Regions from separate parts of the Homo sapiens genome. Here region 1 is linked to region 2. Evidence: promoter capture Hi-C in human tissues and cell types (Jung and others, 2019). All regions are on one chromosome and are shown on one strand. Each heading gives the region's core, a stretch centred on a gene start or on the middle of the fragment in contact. The rest is flanking DNA. Distances are from core to core; before and after follow the strand shown.

Region 1 (5,872 bases), core at 3,122-5,621, 110 kb before region 2:
GAAACCCCATCTCTACCAAAAATTCAAAAAACTTAGCCAGGCATGGTGGCGCATGCCTGTAATCCCAGCTACTGGGGAGGCTGACGCAGGAGAATCACTTGAACCTGGGAAGTGGAGGTTGTAGTGAGCCAAGATCGTGCCATTGCACTCCAGCCTGGGTGACAGAGTGTGATTCTGTCTCAAAAAAAAAAAAAAAAATTATAGAGTTGTAAGTTGCTATAGAAGTAAACTAGTATCTGAGTTAATTGCTGTATTCACGTCAACTTAGTGTTGTCTGGCATAGTTATCTAACCCTTCTAATTGTTCTTCTTGTTAAATTACTAAGCTGTCACAGTAGCCAAGTAAAAAAGTACAAGATAGAGTTAAGCATTATAAATAACTGTAAAAGCCTTGGATTAATTAACCAAATTCCCCCACTTAGTAGATAATTAAGTATTTCATTCTCCATGTATCTGATGATCCATTTTTTAGGTGATTTGAGCATCTTTTTTCCCCCGGTTTTGTAGATAATCTCTTTTTTAGATCTTCAAAAGGGATAAAATATTTAAATTAATTGTATTAGTGACTACACATAATTTTTATACATGTTATTATTCTCTATTTAGGTGATGAAGCTGTGAGGATTTTGCCATTCCCAAACCATATTCTTCTAGCTTCAACTAGGCAATAAAAGATGATCTCTTTCACATCACTTCTTTTTCATATCTGCCCATCAAGGATTATGTATTTATAGACTTCTCAATTACTGCCTTGTAATAAGATATTTTTATTTCTACCCCTGGTTGTGACATCTATTACAATTGCTGATTGCTGGCCAGGTGCAGTGGCTGATGCCTATATTCCCAGCACTTTGGGAAGCCGAGAGAGGTGGGTCATCTGAGGTCAGGAGTTGGAGACTAGCCTGACCAACATGGTGAAACCCTGTCTCTACTAAAAACACAAAATTAACCAGGTGTGGTGGCACATGCCTGTAATCCCAGTTACTTGGGAGGCTGAGGCAGGAGAATTGCTTGAACCTAGGAGGCGGAGGTTGCAGTGAGCCAAGATTGTGCCATTGCACTCCAGCCTGGGCGACAAGGGCAACACTCCTCAAGAAAAAAAAAAAAATTATTGATTGCCCTTTTTTTTCTTTTGTGATGATTATCTTTTTTACTAATAGTATGTCTTGCCTAAATAACACAACACTTTCCTCTGTATATTAGAGTTCTCATTTATAAGTCTGTTCATACTGAACTTTCAAGCTTTTGAATACCTTGCTATTAACTTATTTATGATACCTTTTATAAATCTATGTTTTCCCAGGATATGAGTCACCAAGTTATATTTATATTGCAATAGCTACAGTGGGTTCATGAGTTCATTTGTTCAATAAATGTTATTAAGCATTTACTATGTGCCAAGTACATAATATTTCATCATTAACCTTTAGCTATATCTTATGCTTGCAACAGAAAAAAAATTTTTAAATATTTTAAAACGTTCTATTTTTTGCTGTTTATTTAATTTAATTTTTTAGTGATGTTAAGACTAGAGACAGCAGATACGTGAAACACCAGATTTCAACTCTGTAACATATTCCCAGGGTGTCTAGAAACTGTATTTGCAAATGATCTTCCCCATTCCACTTTAGGTGGTTTAGTTGAATCTACAGCATTCATATTTTGCACATTCACTTTATTAATTTAATCCCTTTAAAATGTCTTTCTTCAAAAGATTTTACATTTTTATCATGAAAGAAGTTTTCAGTGTCTTGTTAGGGATTTGATTTTTAGACTTTCATTATAGAGTTCATCTTCTCTAATTTATAAATCCCAACCTCCTATAATTAGTTGTTGAGTACACAAACCCATCTACAGTAACCAAGTACAAATTTTGGTGGATCTCAGAATTGGACGGTAGTCCAATGATGATAACTGTATTTTTCTGAGATTCCTCTAGACTGAGCTATACGGCAACATTGGCATCGTATGTACCTTTAAAATATCAAGATTTTGAAAAGTCCTGTAGAAACGAAATACTGTATATTTTTCAACATTTCTGCCAAACCTCATCCCAGCTCTCCAGATTCCCAAGTATATGTCTGGATTCCACTTCGCAAATTCAAGCTTATTTTGAGAAACCTACTTAGATGATATAGAGGACTCACCTGTATGCCACAATTATTAATTTCTCACTAGATTATATCCTTGATAATGTTACATCATACTGTATCAGGAAAAGAAACATATACTTCCTGGGCTATATTTCAAGCCTAACAGTTTGCAGCAGGCCTATAATATCCTATAATATTTACGAACATAAAACCATTCACTGCTACAAATCTATGATATTCCCTGGTTATCACCACTTCCCAGCATTTTCACTGTCTAATCATTGGACACAATAACCATACTCTTATTTTTTAGCTAGGTAGGATACATAGCTAAACTAAAATATAAACATGACTGAAACAATTTTTCCAGTGCCTAATTTGAAATGTAGTCTATGTGGTCTTCTAGCAGCATCTGTACAGGCAGGTAAGATTCTCAATTCAGCTGTTTTGTTTTTTTTTTTTTTTTGATTCGGAATCTCACTCTGTAGCCCAGGCTGGAGTGCAGTGGCACAATCTCGGCTCACTGCAAGCTCCGGCTCCCAGGTTCACGCCATTCTCCTGCCTCAGCCTTACCTGTAGCTGGGACTACAGGTGCCCGCCACCACGCCCAGCTAATTTTTTTGTATTTTTAGTAGAGACGGTGTTTCACCTTGTTAGCCAGGATGGTCTCGATCTCCTTGCCTCATGATCTGCCCGCCTCAGCCTCCCAAAGTGCTGGGATTACAGGCGTGAGCCACCGCACCTGGCCAATTCAGCTGTTTTATAATATTAATGAAGAGAACTTCCATCTTCCTTAATCTCATGACGTGGAAAGTGTCATTACATTATACATCAAGAGAAGAGCTTTTACAATGAGTATGAATACCATTCCAAATTCTCAGTTTGCTTTTAATAAGTCTAACATTGTTACCTAGTATCACTAAGTTCTCTGCACAGCCTGAGGCTCTGTTGAATTTTTTTTCACTCCTTTCACTTCATTCTCCCGAAGTGAATTCTTCATTTTACTCCTTCTAATGAAGGGTCTAAATATGGTGGAAACCCATAATGGGTTTCCAGTTTTCCAGTTCCCTGAAATTGAGTGTTTAAAATCGTGGTAGTTCTGTAGGTCTAGATCTGAAGAAAAAAAAAAAAAAGCTGGGTGTAATCCCAGCACTTTGGGAGGCCAAAGCAGGCGGATCACCTGAGGTCAAGAGTTTGAGACCAGCCTGGCCAACATGGCAAAACCCTGTCTCAACTAAAAATACAAAAATTACCTGGGCGTGGTGGCAGGCGCCTGTAATCCCAGCTCCTCGGGAGGCTGAGGCAGGAGAATTGCTTGAACGCGGGAGCCAGAGGTGGCAGTGAGCTGACACACCATTGCACTCCAGCCTGGGTGACAGAACAAGACTCTGTCAAAAAAAAAAAAAAAAAAAAAGAAGAAGAAGAAAAAAAAAGGAAGGAAGGAAGGGAAAGAAAGAAAGAAAGAGAAAGAAGAAAGTCTTGGGAGTTATTTGTGTTTCACATTACTTCTGGATCTTTTCTTTCACGTGCCAATAGCTAAAAAAGTTTGTTAATCTCATGTGTCAACCTTTGTGCTATAGGAGTTGATAACTTCAATGTCTTCTGATTGTAATACTGTTCTTACACATATCTTGGAGGATAATCTAAAATACATCTTCTGAAATCAGACCTATTGGTTACCTGTTATATGAATTGCTAGAGCTTTCAGATTAACCTGAGCCTACAAAATCTCTTATGGCTTTTATGTACTTATTTCAAAGAGATGGTACAGGATAGTTCAGTCCAACTGTTAAATGTCAGAATCACTTAAGAAGCTTAAATTACAAGTGCCTATAGCCCTATCTGCAGACAATCTGATGTGGTAGCTTCCAGTGGGGTCTGGTCATCTGCATTTTAAAGCAAGTTCCCCTGGATGAGCATTACTCTTTAGTGTTTTAGCAAATATTAGCTCTGAGAAGCTTTTCCTCCTTTGCATGAATACTATTTGTTCAGCCCATCTTCGTTCTTTCCTTCCTTCCTTTCTACCTACTCACCTAGCTACACCCTTCCTACATTTACTGAGCACTGTGCCAGTGCAGAGAGAAGGCAGAAAGGACAAGATGCACTCTCTGTCCTCAGGGGATTCTCAGTCTCTATTCTCTTCATTTTGCCCATTCATTTTTATAGTTCTCAACTGTTTTTGAATAGTCATATTCTGACATGAAGGAGTGTGTGTTTTGCCTCATCTCAGATCTTCTGGGATGAGACTTTCTTAGAGTCTTTGTCACTGTCTCCTGAGGTCAGCCCTGGATGAGGGGAGTTCTTTCTTTCTACGGTTCTGAAAATTAAGAAATATATTTCTCGTTAGCTTACAGTGCAATTGCGCACAGCTCTAAAATTGTGAATACTTTCATCTTGGCAGTTTGTCCTGAGCTTTAGCTGCTACCTTCTTACACCTAATAAGTTTGAGATCCATTTCTGAAATTGGTTTACTTATTTTGGAAGGGATATATAAACCTGTTGCTTTGCTTACATATGACATCTCATACTTCTATTTCTTTTACAGATATTTAAAAAGTTCCACAACTAGCCTTTTTTCCATTCTATTTCTCAATTCTTTTTTTTTTTTTTTTTTTTTTTTTTTTTTTTTTTTTGCGACAGAGTCTCGCTCTGTCGCCCAGGCTGGAGGGCAGTGGCATGATCTCAGCTCACTGCAAGCTCCAACTCCCGGGTTCACGCCATTCTCCTGCCTCAGCCTCCCAAGTAGCTGGGACTACAGGTGCCCACCACCATGCCTGGCTAATTTATTTTTTATTTTTTATTTTTTTATTTTTTAGTGGAGACAGGGTTTCACCATGTTAGCCAGAATGGTCTTGATCTCCTGACCTCGTGATCTGCCCACCTCTGCCTTCCAAAGTGCTGGGATTACAGGCGTGAGCCTCTGCACCCGGACAATTCTTTTGTACTCTTTGCCTCAAAATGCACATATTGCTTTTTGTAAAATGGTCTCAATTTCTATTGGAGTTCTAGCTTACAAAATTGGCCTTAGAGATTTTTTTTCTATCACATTGGCTGACTTATCAGGCTTTCTCAATTTACCCTTCCAGTAGCTAGCCAGGACAGATCTAAATTTTGATCCTTGTTTAAGGTGATCTGATCATTAAAGCAAGTGGCTCAGGCAGGTAAGTCTTCTCTCCAGGTTCTACTGTGAGTTTCACCATATAGATGGTTCTATGACCCCATTGAAGCTCAATTAATCACACAATAAGTCACTCAGACTTTAAATGTCTGACACTTAGAACTGGAGCTCCTTGGCCGGGCGCATCGGCTCACACCTGTAATCCCGGCACTTTGGGAGGTAGAGGCAGGCAGATTGCCTGAGGTCAGGAGTTCAAGACCAGCCGGGGCAACATGGCAAAACCCCGTCTCTACTAAAAATACAAAAAATTAGCTGGGCATGGTGGCGTGCGCCTATAGTCCCAGCTACTCAGGAGGCTGAGACAGGAAAATAGCTTGGACTTCAGAGGCGGAGGTTGCAGTGAGCCAAGATCATGGTACTGCACTCCAGCTTGGGTGCTGGGTGGCAGAGAGAGACCCTGTCTCAAAAAAAAAAAAAAAGAAAAAAAAAAAACCGGAGCGCCTTTTCAGAAATATAACCTGAGTAGGAAAAGTCTTCAAGAGTTTCAGGCTACTTTGCTGAGGCAAACTTTCTGGACTAAATGGGTACAATGGGCTGGGGCTCTTTTGGGGCAGAGAAAGATAAGTACTCCGGGGCTCCATTCCTTGTTCTAGATTGCTGAA
Region 2 (6,028 bases), core at 1,595-4,094:
AAAAGCCCCAAAACACTTGGTGGCTCTGTCTTGACTAAAGATACAATCTAATATCTCATCAAGGCTTCCAAAATTTTCTGTGATCTCTCTCCAGCCTACCTTTTTGGCTTGATATGCCATCTTCTCTATGTAAGTCCTCTGTTGTAGCTAAATGTATCTAATTGTTCTGGATATAATCATGTATCCCCCTCCTTTACTGATGCCTCATCTTTTTCCTTCCAACATGCAAGACAGCATCTTTATTGTCTCACAATTATGGGGCTGTTACTTCTCAACTCTTCTGAGAGATCTTGGGATGGGAATAGCAAGATCCCTAACACATAGAGCCACAGACTGGGAGTCACTTGTTGAGAGTACTGAGTTGAAGGTTTTCCATATAGAGAGCTAACTCAGGATCCCTATCCTACTACCCTCATGATTACATTTATAAAGACTGGTTATGAAAAGTTAAAAACTCTCAGACTTGACTTTTACCTAAGAAGATAAATCTAGACATGAGAAAGCCAAATGCAACAAACAAACAAACAAACAACAAACAACAAAAGAATCACCACGAAACACATTGCATATTTAAATTCAAATGATTATTCCCTCTTTTGGATTAACTTACTCTGCACATAGTATATGTCCAGTAAATGTTTGTGGTTTATGTTTAGCCCATAAAAGTGCTTTGAAGGCAGATATCTAATTCACTGTTGTAGCCCAATGTCTTTCAAAGGGTTATCATGGCATATAGGATATGCTTAATAAATTATTATTAAATGAATTGAAGGTTAAATGCACATCTTTATCATTGAAGGTGTGGGAGGTGGATGAAAAAGATTCAAGTTTTCCATATTGGGCGGTTTGTAGGTGGCCATACTCCAGAGCTATAAGCCCGAAGTTTGCCCCATTTCTCCAAGTTCCAGTAGAAAACAGCCAAATGTCAGCCAGAAGAACAAGGGCAAGGAAGAGAGCAGTTGGGAACTCTATCTCCTGGAAATTTGCATCTTCACAGAAAGGCAGAGTGAATTACCTTAGTTCATCTTATTTCCTTTACTCCGAAGACCTATGTCCACTATGGTTGGCGTATGTGTTAAAGAAACAATTCCACCTGGAAGTGGACTACTGGGAAGTAGACTGGGAACTGGGAAGAGATGCTGACATGCGTTCTATTCCCTTTTTGTGGGGGTCCTATATATGGAACTGGTAGGTTGTGGTGTCAGCAGATGTGTATTCATTACAAATCCCCTTACTGTCATGTTACTTGATCCTGAGCCTTCAATATTGCTGTATTTGACCCAGAACAATTCCTGCTTTCCTATCTCCCTGTGACACGTTAACCTACTTACACTCACCTGGGTGTTGATTGCTGATTTTTTTGACTCTTTGAAGCTGATTTCTATAAAGAATGTGGTCTTTTTTTTACTCTGTCCTTCTCTGGTTGATATCAGTGGTCTGACATTTGGTGCCCTGAACTTCTGTTGCATCCCTGATGCTCTCCTGAATTCTCCTTATGCTACTTATTATGCCACAGGATGGATGGAATAGAAGATAGCCATTCTAATAAAGTAATTGTCATCATCATCATTGCTCCTTGTCCATATGCAGAGGTTTATAATTTCCAATATATTTACCATATTTATGGTCATATTTATTTGTGACCCATATTTTTTATAGGTGAAGAAAGGGGGGTGTTCAGAGAGGTTAACTGCTTGAGGATCCGTAGTGATTGTGACAAGACTCAAAACTTGGGCTTCTGAGTTCAGCTAGGGATGAAGAAGATGGAGGTGTAACATGTATTGCTAACCATGGCAGAGATTCCTGGTCCTGGAATCAGTTTGGATCTTGGTCTTTCCTCTGTGTAACTGTGACTTTAGGTGGGAGTTGTAATATATAATTTGGGGTCTTATTTCTTTTATCTGTAAGATTATCTTTCATGTCTTCTTTCATTCTAAGCCGAGATTCTAAGACATCTTTGTGAATTAGAACATAGGATACTTTTCATATTTTACAGATGGACAAAATGAGGCGCAGAGGGGCTGACATATCCAGCAACTCACAGTAAGGGGTAAAGTTTGGACTAAAGGCTGTCTCGACTCCTAGCACAGGGCTCATTCTGCCATATCCCATTGGCTTATCGCTACTGGGGGTTCCTCTGTGAAGTGCTATTTTAGAGGCCACCAGTTATCAAATATATATTTTTAAATTTTGAAAAAAGTTGCCTGCCTCATTATGTATAATTGTCTCCAGTGTTCTTTTTTTATGATGATGGTCACTGTGAGTAATAAGACTTGAATTAATCCTTCTCTGTAAAGGTTTGCTCAGTTTTCTCTCTGTCTCAGTTAAAGGGGTCTTGCCATACTACTCCCCGCATAGAGTTGTTGTGAGAACTAAGGAGAGCACTCAGAACAATGCCTGCAACATAACAATCACCCCCCCCCCGTGGATGTGAGCGCTGTCTCAGTAGCGGGTGTGCCCCACGGATGATACTACTGAGCTGGCAGGTGCATGGTCCTGTCATAGGTGTCCGCTTAGAGAAGTATAACCTCCTGTGTAAGGACACTAAATGCCAGGGCCTGATATATTATCCACTTTGATGTTGACATGGGCAGAGAATAGGCAGAAGAGCAGGCAAATTTTTGGGCAGGTATGGGGACTTTGAAAATTGAGCCTTGACAATATTTGCATCTACTCTGAGAAGAAAAAACCTCTCACCCTCCTCTGATAGCCTGCGTCCTCTACTCTGGCCTAGCTTCTGCGCTTGGGGCAGCTGGAGGGACAAACATATCCTACAGGACCTTCCAGAGCAACCCAACAGAGATAGCCCTTGAAGTTTTGGGACCCATCTTGTCCACCAGAGAGATGAATGGAGACCACATGGTTCTAGGATCTTCGGTGACTGACAAGAAGGCCATCATCTTGGTTACCATTTTACTCCTTTTACGCCTGGTAGCAATAGCAGGCAATGGCTTCATCACTGCTGCTCTGGGCGTGGAGTGGGTGCTACGGAGAATGTTGTTGCCTTGTGATAAGTTATTGGTTAGCCTAGGGGCCTCTCGCTTCTGTCTGCAGTCAGTGGTAATGGGTAAGACCATTTATGTTTTCTTGCATCCGATGGCCTTCCCATACAACCCTGTACTGCAGTTTCTAGCTTTCCAGTGGGACTTCCTGAATGCTGCCACCTTATGGTCCTCTACCTGGCTCAGTGTCTTCTATTGTGTGAAAATTGCTACCTTCACCCACCCTGTCTTCTTCTGGCTAAAGCACAAGTTGTCTGGGTGGCTACCATGGATGCTCTTCAGCTCTGTAGGGCTCTCCAGCTTCACCACCATTCTATTTTTCATAGGCAACCACAGAATGTATCAGAACTATTTAAGGAACCATCTACAACCTTGGAATGTCACTGGCGATAGCATACGGAGCTACTGTGAGAAATTCTATCTCTTCCCTCTAAAAATGATTACTTGGACAATGCCCACTGCTGTCTTTTTCATTTGCATGATTTTGCTCATCACATCTCTGGGAAGACACAGGAAGAAGGCTCTCCTTACAACCTCAGGATTCCGAGAGCCCAGTGTGCAGGCACACATAAAGGCTCTGCTGGCTCTCCTCTCTTTTGCCATGCTCTTCATCTCATATTTCCTGTCACTGGTGTTCAGTGCTGCAGGTATTTTTCCACCTCTGGACTTTAAATTCTGGGTGTGGGAGTCAGTGATTTATCTGTGTGCAGCAGTTCACCCCATCATTCTGCTCTTCAGCAACTGCAGGCTGAGAGCTGTGCTGAAGAGTCGTCGTTCCTCAAGGTGTGGGACACCTTGAGCCACAGCTGATGAAAAACTTCAAGGAGATTCTTGTGGAGAAGGCATGGACTCAAAGGGACATAGCTTCTCTCTTTGCCACATTGAATGTTTTCTCTCTGTTGCTACAGTTAATGATTAGAAAAATAACTTCAATGAAATAGGATACAAGGTGAGAGTAAAGGTCCTGAAATATGGGCTAGTGTCATGTTATGTACTCACCAAGTGCATAGTTCATGTGGCCATGGTTCCTGTGGGACCTGATGTGGTCAAAGAATCCAGAAGCCTTTATTTTTCCTGTGATCGATCTCTTCGTATTTAAAATAATCATTCTGGGAACTGGATGCAAAGATCCTCAAACTTCATGCAATATTTTATCTGTTCAATCGAACTGGGGCATGTTTTTGGAACTGCAGTTTTCTCAGGCTTTGTCCTGTGAACCACCTTTCCCTTCTCATCAATTCAAAGTTTTCTGGCCATCTAATGTGGTGCCTCTCTCCTTCTTTCCATGGAAGAGTTTCTGGTGTCTAAACCTTCTACACAGAGCATAGTGTAATTGGTGCATGTGTGTGGCAGTGTGTGTTGCCAGGGATGTGTGTATTCTCCGATGACCTTTGGAGATCCCTCTGAGTGCCAGGGGTCTATGATTTGTATGTGGTTCATGTTCTCTATAATAGCCCAGCCTGTTAGTCTCCTCTGTATTTGTTAAGGTCTGTGGGTTCAGATGTAACTTCTTTTGATTGATATTGGGACCTATTGTAATTCCCCTACTGACATGGGGAAGTTTATCTGTATCTGTCTAAGACCTAAGATTTAAGAAGAAAAAGCCTTTGTGTTTGGTGAACCATGTTCAGACTGCCTTTCTGCTTTTCCCAGCTCCTCTCAAACGTTCTTTAAGTTCAGTTACTCCCTGAATCATTCAAACGAGACAACCCTCAAGTTTCCTCCATTCACTTTAAAATCTCTCCGCCTCCTTTCCTGGTTTTTACCTCCACCACACTCTACATTAGAGGACTGGTCTCTGTTTTTGGCTTTTCAAGGCTGACATCTGTGATCCTAGCCCTGCTCCTGCCTGTTTTCTCTCTGCTGCTAGGTCAAGGATTTCTACTTCTACACAAATCTTCCAACTTTCCCTCTTTATTGTCCTTCCCTTCTTCAACAAATGTGCCTCTAAACTTTTTTCCTGAAAACAATCCCCTTATCTGTCTCGCTCCTCCCCCTCCCTGTACCCCTGTGCTGCCAATGAGTCACTTGCAGGGTCTTCCCGTGTGCCTTCCAATCCTCTCCTGCTTCCCTGTTCTGCTGAAACATGTTTGTTTCTACAGGGACACACACGATCTCTTTGTCACTAAATGTGATATTGTCCCCAGCCCTTATCCTCCCATGTCTCTGTTGTATTTGCCTCTGTTGATAACAAATGATTTCCTTAAAATAAACTGATGAAAAATATTTTTACAAAAGTACTGCTGATCTTGGTGAAAGATTTTTTTAAAAGGGAAACTAAACCTCACCCATAATTGCCCATCTGCGCATCTTTCTAAAAGTTGTTCTCTTGGCGACGGATGCTAGGATCTTCTTCCAGTTCCCATCGCTTCTTTTTGTGTCCCCTTCACTAACCACTCATCCTCCTGCCTCTTGGTTCTGTCCTTAGCCAGCCCTCTTCTTCCTTTGAGATGATATCTGATCTCTTTCCTTTGTGTTTAAATCTACTCACATAGCTTCAATTATGCCCTTCATGTTGATAATTACCAAAGCCTTGACCTTTCTCTAAACTCCAATCCTATATTTTCTTCCACTAATTGGACATTACCACCTGATAGTACCATGAGCAAATTTAGCAAGTTCAAAGTATTTCCTTCTTCTTTATTTCCTCCTCCTCCTCCTCTACTTTTCCCTCCCTCCTCTTCCCACCAGCCCGTCCCCTGCTCAGATGAATCCATTCATCTATTACAGCTATTCAATAAATCAGGCTATCAACTTCTGAGTTAATTTTCACCCCCTTCTCTCTACTGAGCCCTTGTACCTAATAGGTAACCATTTTCAAATTTTACCCCTGTGATGTCCCCATCATCTGTCTCCTTCTTCCCATTCCTGATCCTTGTTGAGATTAGACTATCTTCCTCTCCCACCTGCACTGCTGAGATTTCTTCTTCACTACTTGCTTCATTTCATGGTTCACTACCACCGCAGTCAGAACTATCATTTCCAGATTAATCTCCTGAAGGTATATCACCCGAATCATCTCTCAG

Evidence for each region. The method cuts DNA at HindIII sites, captures the fragments that hold promoters and counts their contacts. A contact is called where the count stands out against the background at its distance.
Region 1: a contact is called between a fragment that was not itself captured here and the fragment with the promoter of TAS2R60 in region 2, in 2 of the 25 tissues and cell types used here (adrenal gland and ovary).

The regions. Positions count from the first base shown.
Region 1 is chr7:143,333,120-143,338,991 of GRCh38, forward strand. All of the region lies in intron 12 of CLCN1 (chloride voltage-gated channel 1), which reads left to right. Among named protein-coding and RNA genes, the nearest start is that of CLCN1, 20 kb to the left of the region's middle. The HindIII fragment of the contact is 5,397 bases long and covers 1,674-5,872 here.
Region 2 is chr7:143,440,609-143,446,636 of GRCh38, forward strand. TAS2R60 (taste 2 receptor member 60) reads left to right here and starts at 2,845. Exons shown (of 1, transcript NM_177437.1): 1 at 2,845-3,801. The coding sequence starts at 2,845. The coding sequence ends at 3,801. The region is part of intron 2 of EPHA1-AS1 (EPHA1 antisense RNA 1); the gene reads left to right. The HindIII fragment of the contact is 10,403 bases long and covers 1-6,028 here.